Linked DNA regions of Homo sapiens: region 2 is linked to region 1. Evidence: promoter capture Hi-C in 16 types of primary human blood cells and fetal thymus (Javierre and others, 2016). All regions are on one chromosome and are shown on one strand. The core of a region is centred on a gene start or on the middle of the fragment in contact, and the rest is flanking DNA. Distances in the headings are between cores, read along the strand shown. Region 1 holds the start of LAMA2 (laminin subunit alpha 2). Region 2 overlaps LOC105377996 (a long non-coding RNA gene).

The links. The method cuts DNA at HindIII sites, captures the fragments that hold promoters and counts their contacts. A CHiCAGO score of 5 or more calls a contact.
Region 2: a fragment that was not itself captured here is called in contact with the fragment with the promoter of LAMA2 in region 1 in 4 of 17 cell types (non-activated CD4 T cells, naive CD4 T cells, total CD4 T cells and 1 more); the score reaches 5.7 in non-activated CD4 T cells.

What each region holds. Positions count from the first base shown.
Region 1 is chr6:128,881,225-128,885,494 of GRCh38, forward strand. LAMA2 (laminin subunit alpha 2) reads left to right here and starts at 1,914. Exons shown (of 65, transcript NM_000426.4): 1 at 1,914-2,133. The coding sequence starts at 2,022. The HindIII fragment of the contact is 2,757 bases long and covers 414-3,170 here.
Region 2 is chr6:127,608,900-127,613,169 of GRCh38, forward strand. All of the region lies in intron 1 of LOC105377996 (a long non-coding RNA gene), which reads left to right. Among named protein-coding and RNA genes, the nearest start is that of C6orf58, 34 kb to the left of the region's middle. The HindIII fragment of the contact is 2,491 bases long and covers 723-3,213 here.

The sequences.
Region 1 (4,270 bases), core at 664-3,163:
TTATTTATTAGATTAACTAATTTGAGTTGAGGCCACAACATGGTTGAGTAAAAATAATCATTTTCCTTTTTATAAATATTCAATAAAACTTTTCCTTTTTATAAATATTTTTTATTATTTATTAGATTAACTAATTTGAGTTGAGGCCACAACGTGGTTGAGTAAAAATAATCATTCTGAGAATAGCAATAGGTTTAGAAGGTTAATTTAGGGTGCCTCTCTGCTATTAGATGTACCTGAAAAACACTTCTAGGCAAAATTAGACCAAATTAAAAACACTGGGGCTTCAATTATAATAAACTCTCAAATATAAGTTTTATTATTGTTTATTATAATAATAAATAATGTATAAGTGTGCAGACATGGGCAGACTACATTTTGCAAATTTCCACAGTAAGGTAAAAGGATTACAAAGCTTTCTGGTATAATATTAACAGAACTAAAAGACATGAATAATATTAAAGAATGGGCTTTGGCTAGTGATTTTCAATCAATTCTCTTCAAAGCAATACTCTCTTAATTTTACTGAAAGAAAATTCAACTTTAATATAATATTTAGATAAATCAATACATCTTAACTATAAAAAAGAAAACTATCTATATAAGACAATATGTATTTCAACATATAAATGCTTGGGTAAAACTTCCTTAGGAGGCAAAATAAAATAAAAGTTTGCACCTATTCTTAGATGACCCCAGTGTAATCGATGGGATGTTGATATTGTGCTGGTGACTCAAGTACCATGGGCAAGGTTGTTATCAGTGATGTGCTTCTCTGAAAGTACATCTTTACACCCATTGACAAATGGGTGTAAAATCCAAAAACACAAAGTAAATTATCTTCTCAATGTATATAGTAGATGCATCCTAGAAAAAAACAAACAAACAAACAAAAAACACACACAAAAATTTGATGTGGAAACAAACTTAAATTAGGTTTCAAATATAAGGCAAGGTTTTGTTGTTTTGTTTGTTTGTTTACTCACTACATAAATGACCAGTGGCCCATTCAGAAGTCTAAGGACAAAATATGTTGTAGGACTGTCCTGACCACTGAGGGACAGCTCACACCCTGACCCAACAGTACACTAATGCCTGCAGTACCCACCGTTCCCGGAGTAAACCAAAAGACATCCTGCGACTCACAAAATCCATTATGGAGTTGTTTTAAACCTTATGAGAACCACTGACCTAGGCCATAAAAAACAAATGAAAAAACAACAAAAACTAGGAATGGCAGTAGTTCTGTTGAGTTAAAGAGGAGAAAGAGGAGAAACCAGGACTGGAAGAGATGAAATTGTGAGTCTGGAAGGAAACTATTGCAAAGGCCTTTATTACCTTTAAGTAAATGTCTCCTAACTGAACTGAAAGCCTTCATTCTAACCATTAGTTTGGTCAGGAACATTTCAGGGACGCCAGGGTGGCTGTTTTATTTTGCACTTCCTTTACTGCCCTCCCAGCAGCCTACCTAGCAGTAAGTTCCCCAGCCTGCAGTGTCCCCAGAGGGCACCTTCCCTCGGCTAGTAACTTCTCAGACACTCTGGCCTTGGGGATGTCTTGGATCTTCTAGGTACACAGTGGCTGCACACAGTTTTGCCAGGCCTTTCTCAAGAGGTAAAAGTTCCTAGCTGTTTGCATTTCCCAGAAATAATGTTTTCCATGTGTAGGGATTTTACAGATTTCAAAGTGCTTTCATGTCAATTACTTTCTTTAATTTAAAAGAAGTTCAGATACCAGGTCAAGCTAGGAATGATCCGGTCTCAGAGGGAAGGAGCGCTCTAGGAAAGGAGGATCCTTTAATAGAGGGCCGTCCTGGGGCCGCGTGCCCATGGAAGGCGAGAGTGGAGGAGTGTCCTCTTTCTCCCCCACCCTCAGGCGGCGGCCCGGCCAAAGCCAGAGGGGGCTGTCTCCTCCTCTTCCCCAGCAGCTGCTGCTCGCTCAGCTCACAAGCCAAGGCCAGGGGACAGGGCGGCAGCGACTCCTCTGGCTCCCGAGAAGTGGATCCGGTCGCGGCCACTACGATGCCGGGAGCCGCCGGGGTCCTCCTCCTTCTGCTGCTCTCCGGAGGCCTCGGGGGCGTACAGGCGCAGCGGCCGCAGCAGCAGCGGCAGTCACAGGCACATCAGCAAAGAGGTACAGTCGAGGCATGGGCTTGGGTTGCATCCTTTGCCGGGACCGAGATTCCTCACTTCTTCCACTCTTCCGAGAGTTGCTGTCTGTGGACTGCCGTCTTGCTTCGCCTTCAGAGAGTGCGCTCTGGGGCAAGAGGAACTTGAAGCAAGTTCAAGTTCAATGCCATGAGAGCGTAGTGTAGGGGGAATTACCTAAGTCCTGCAAAAGGAACGGGGAGTGCTTTTCATTGTTCTTTAGTTTCGAAGAGGTCTTGCTATCACGATACATCCCGTAAATTGATTTCTGAAATCTTTCCAAGAGGAAAACTTTTTCCAATTGGAAAAAAAAGAATTTCTTCAAATCAGAGCCCATCCTGCAGAGAAAGGCTTCCCAAGCTGTGTGGTTCATCCTGGGACTTTATGGAGGGTAGCTGATGCATCAAAAAAAAATTATATATATATATATACACACACACACACACACACACACACACACACACATATATATATATATAAAGTTTTACAGAACTTTGTTTTCAACTTTTAAAACAGGATTTCTAAAGAAGTTATGTGGTTTTTTTTCTTTCATGGCAATGGCGCCTCCAGCCTCACCTTTTTCAAACCCACATCTTATCTTCATATCCTATTTTATTGTAGTGAAATCGTGAAATTTCTCCTTTTGCTTAAATACAGAGGAGACTTCTATGTCATGTGTACTTTAAGGCCACAGTGACTAGATATACACTTTGGAGGACTTTGGAAGATGGCTGTATTTAATGTAACTTAAATAACTTATTCTCCTCAGAGCCTCTTAGTGTTTATGTATATATAGCTCTCATTTCTGAAACTTTGGGGAGTCTTTGAAGAGTTATTTTATTATCATGAATTTTACAGGAAGCACATGTGCAGCATTGTAAGACATACTTTGTAACACATTATTTCAGCAAACAATTCTTTAAGTTGGAAAACCTGTATCAAAGTAAAAAAAAAAGAAATATTTATTATTCGGTTTTAAATATGAAAATGTTTAACCTAAGAGTACAAAATCTGTAGGTTAGAAGCTTTTAAAAGTTTTAATGAGGCTGAATCTGCTTAAGTTTTGAAGTATACTTATCCTTCTTCCAGTTAACTTCTAGCCAAGTCAATAGTTCTGATATTTGTTCTTATAATCTAGCATTTTTAGCAGTACTATTTTTTAAGGAGTAAAGAGATATCCCAAGCTCTTTCTATAATAATAACTCCCTGATTAAAATTCTTGGAATAAAAATGACCTTGCATTCACTATATAACTTTTTTCCTTCTATTTTTGCTTTTGCTTCTCTGAGAGGTAAAATGGGGCCAATATGACTTAATTAATATAATTTACGAGAGTGATTTTAAGAGTATCTCTGGCCACTTATTTTTAAAAATTCTACTTTTAACTATTAAACTTTGCTCAATTACAAGGTGTGTTTAAACAAGACATAATACTTTAATAATGTTAGGCAGCTGGGAGAAATGAGGGGCCAGGGGCACCAATCCTTATGTCCACTTGGAATGGGGCAGAAACTCAAAGCATGCAGAGTAAGGATCAAGTAAATTGTTGCTAAGAATTATCCTGAACACACACAGGATTTCTCTTTTTTCCTCTCCCTTCTTATTTACTCTCTTTTCAAATAAGGTAATATTAACTCTGATTTCTATGACCCAGGCACAAGATGAAGTGAATTCAGGAGGAAGGGTTTATACTACCATTCTGTCAAGATACCACTTAAATGCTACATACAATAAGGAATTTTATTCAAAATAGCTACAACATACAATCTACTATAGGCTGCTATAATCTGCATTCTAGTATATATTATTGTCTTTGTCATAGACCATTTACAATATATCTGGAGGTTGGCTCAAGGATAAATGACTTAAACCTGTTAATGTTGAAAGTATGTAAAATTCATGAAACTTTAAAATTGGATAGTGATTTATGATTTAAAAATGCCTTATGTACACGATCTTTATTCACCTTCAGATATTATTATTCTCAAAGGACAAATTTAGAACTTAGGCTTCCAGTAGTTGTAATTTAAGTTTACATAATAATAACTTTATTTCAACAACTAAAACACTTCCGGTATTGTTTGTGCTGAATTCCCTTTTTTATGGTTCCAAGGTTTCTTTCC
Region 2 (4,270 bases), core at 718-3,217, 1.3 Mb before region 1:
CTAGTCACAATGAGTTTTCAGAAAACTCTGTCCAAGCCTCACACCTAATTCAACAGATATTTTTTGAGCAGTGACCTCATTCCTGGTGCTGTATCAGTACTGTCCTACGATAATGAACAAGGTGGAAAAGAGCTCTGTCTTTGAGATGTTTAACAAAGGATGACTATAAAAATTTAATCTCTAATGAAAGCAAGTAATTTGAATATGTAATAGAAGAATTTTGTCCTCAAGTTGACTTCTTATTGTAATTTTAAAAATAATTACATAGAGAAGAACCAAACACATAAGCAATGCTAGAAACCACTAAAGAAGAATACACTATTTTAATGTCAGTAAACCCCGTCATTGGCATAAGAAGGGTTATGTTATATTAGCAGGGCAGTGAAAAATTTGTTGTTTTTATCATCAATTATCACGTTTTTACTAACACTGACTTACAGCAGAAGTGGCAAACCTTTTTTGTAAAGGGCCAGATAGTAAATATTCTGCTTTTTGGTGGGCAACTCTATTATTGTATCCCAAAACCAGAAATAGACAAGATGTAAACTTATGGATGTGGCCAAGTTCCAATAAAACTTTATTTACAAGTGGACAAGATTAGGCCCATAGCTTGCTGACCTGTGCCTTTGAAGTCTTTTAGACAATAGTGACAACACTGATATTTAGAACTCAGCTTGGCCTATCTAAGAACACGTTATCCTATCATTCTGAATTCAACAGAAAGCTTCATTTTATTGTTCACTGCTCTTGGAAATGATACATTGTATAACTTTTCATTTTTTAAAAAAACTGTTTACTGAATATCTGTTAAGCATAAAACTTATGTAATTATCATGAATAAATAAAAATTTTCATTTTTAGGCAGATATTTTTAGAAAATATCTTAATATTCTTAGGGATATTTCCTTAAGAAAAGTATAGGTTACAAATTATCAAAGTTTGGATAAGACAGTGATATCTCTAGGTTTGGCATAGCAGCAGAATTAAGGGAAGATTTTATGAAGGATGTGGCATAAAGGTTGGAGCACATTTTTTATTTATACATACAGCTGGTCCTTCCATATAACTTGTTCTATCCCAAATACTGGTATGCAAGAGGCACTTGGAAATGTATTGAAGGAAGACAACTGAAGCAATAGACACAGTTAGAGGCTCTAAAGTAATTGTTCCACAGAAAACAACTACTTCCAGCTCTTCTTATTGTCCTTTGAGCTCATTAATTTTATTTTTCCTATTTAAGTTTCACATTTCTGAGTTTTACATACCTAAAATAAAAGTTAATTTGTGTGGTATTTTTATTGAGTGAAGAAGTGCTTAGAAAATAATTCTCCATGAATATTTTTGTTTCTTCACAGTCCAGAGGCAGTTGGTGTATCTATTAAAGGATGACTTAAAGACAAACATGACTTGGATGTTAGGTAGCACACTGCTCCAGAGAGTAGTTCAACTCTTATCCCTACTGGAATCACTTGTTTACAGTACAGAGTAGCGATCACTCACCCCACCCTCTAGAGTAAAGGTAAGAAGGATGAGATGTCTCTCATTTTGTTTCTCTCTCTCTCCCACCTTTGTCTCTCGCATGCACCCATGCAGAATAGAATGATACACCAGCTGCTCCATATATGTTCCAAGTCTTACTTTAGGGTTCATCTGCTGTGAGGCAATGCTACTGCATGCGAGAGTGAACATCATTTATTGCATTAACCCATGAAAACTGAAGCATGGGAAACGGATGCTAAGGCAATCTGTCAGTAATAAATGGTCTGTTCTCTGATCCAGAGGCATCTTCTTTCCTGCTAGAAATTACATATATATGAAATAATGATACTTGAAATTACATATATATATACATACATAAGTATGAAATAATTTTTGTACATTATGAAGAAATTCTGTAAGAGGACAGAGGGCTGATGGGAATAGATAGCAGACAGATTGTCCAAACTGTATGGTCAATTGGGCAATATATGGGACTTTGTTTCCTTTTCAGTGTTTCAAGGGATACAATCACAGCTGCCAGGAGGTTATAAATCTTTTATGAAAGTACAAAGTTTGAGTTCATTCACCCTTCTCTAAATCATTGTAATAGAGTATTGTGGTTCCAAAATAATTAAAAAGCACAAATAAAAACCTATCAATAAATCACAGGTGCACACTTAAATCCTCATACACAACAATGTTATCTCTCCTAAATGAGCTTTAACCTGTCAACTTCTCCCTTTCTGAGAGTGGTCCAGCATTTCCAAGTTTTCTAAAGGAATATCTATGGAATCCAGGACAAACATAGTGTTACCTTTGACCATAGAAGAAATGGTGATGAGTGGTTGTATTCTGGATATTTGAATGTAGTACCAACATAGTTTCTTTATGGATCAGGTATAGGGTATAACAGGAAGAAGGATGTTATAAGTGATTCCATGATAATTCTTTTTCTTCACTTCCCACTTCCCACTTCTTCACTACTTTTTCTGAACAATTCAGTGAAAAATTTATTTGGTAGACAAAAGTAAAAAATTGTGGGAAGGGAGTCATGGTGACAAAACATGGAGATCCAGAGCCTAAGCAGGGTGAAGAAGTTGTGCTCACAAAAGGGGAGGCCATGTAGGAAAACAGAGTATAAACCTGGACCGGAAGGCATTGCCAGAGAGGGGAGGCCCAGCATGGGGAGTCAGAGGGCAAGCAGAGTGAAGAGGAAATTCAGCGATAGAGGCCATGTACTACAAGATATTGGAGCCCAAAAAGATGGGTGAGAAGGCATCCATACAGATGAGGAGGTTATGGCACAGATGATGGATGGAATTATATACAGAAAAATTAAACAAGTACATATTCAAAGCAAATGGAAGCCACATTCTTTCACTGTTAGAGAAGGAAGATTCAAACATTGAAAAGTGTGATAACTAAAGTAATTGCTGTGCTATTGGATTGGAATTAGCAATATTGGTGTGAACTCATAATTTGCAATATACATAAATTAGATAGATGATGTGTTCTAAATAGATAATGGTAGACACATAGATAGATGGATATAGAGGTGAGTAGATGCATCTACTGAGAGGGATGCATGAATATGAGCAGGAATATCCCAAAAGTCATAAACAAATCTACCACTCAGGCCTTGACTTCTTCAAAATATTATTTTTCAATAAATGAAACAAAAGTGCCTTAGAGAAATGGATAATTCTAGGGATAAGAGAGGTAAAGGATAAAATAAGCTTAAGATACATTCTTGTGCCTGAAAGCAATGAAGTGTTCAAAAATAGATGGATATATTGTCAAAGGGAGCTTCCACTGGCCAAGACTGAAACAATGGAGTATCAAAATAAATAATAAAGCATGGAAATCCACTGAATAAAATGAAAAACATGAATAGAGAGATATAAATAAATAAATGAATGTTTTAAATTTTGATGAGAAACAGGATAGATTCAAAGTATCTTCCACATATACATCTACAATACATATTTATGCTATATAATATATAAATACACATGCAAATACATCTATAATACATATACATAATATATAGAATATAACAATACATGTATAACATATAAACATATTAAATATAAAGAAATATAACAAATATAAGTAACAAATATGGGACATAAGCGATAACAAATAATAATATACAATATTAATACAGATATAAATAAAACATACAGTATAACTGTAGTTAAAATATTGTTCTGCTATTACCTCTATAGTTCAGTCTCAACAGAGAAGCTGGATTTGGTCACTCCTCTGCTCAAAAGCCTTCTCTATGTTCTCCATTCTATTCCAAGGTTGAAAAAAATGTTCTTACAATGGATTACAAGGGCCTACCCAAACCTATTGCTCTCATTACATCTCCTATTTATTTTTGCCTTGTTCAATCATCTTGCTGAAGAAGCCAGATCAACTCCTAATTTCCAACTGCTGTGCTTCCTCTTCCTCTTTGCCTCAAATAATCTTACTCCAGTTATCTTCCTGGCTCCTTCCCTCTCTTCCTTCACATCTCTGCTGAAATAACTATCCCCAGCAAGACCTCACTAACAAACCTTTTAAAATTGAAGGTGTTCAATATCTTCTAGTATTTCTTGTTGCTTTTCTTTAAATTGTTTTTCCCTTAGCATCGCATATTTACTAAGTCTTTCATGGGAGTATAACCTCAATGAGGTCACAGATTTCTAACTTTTTTTTTTTCCTGGTACAATATAACTAGGGCCTAAGACAGTGTGTCTCACAAAGGAAGTACAAACTAGTATTTATTGAATAAAGAATATTTTCC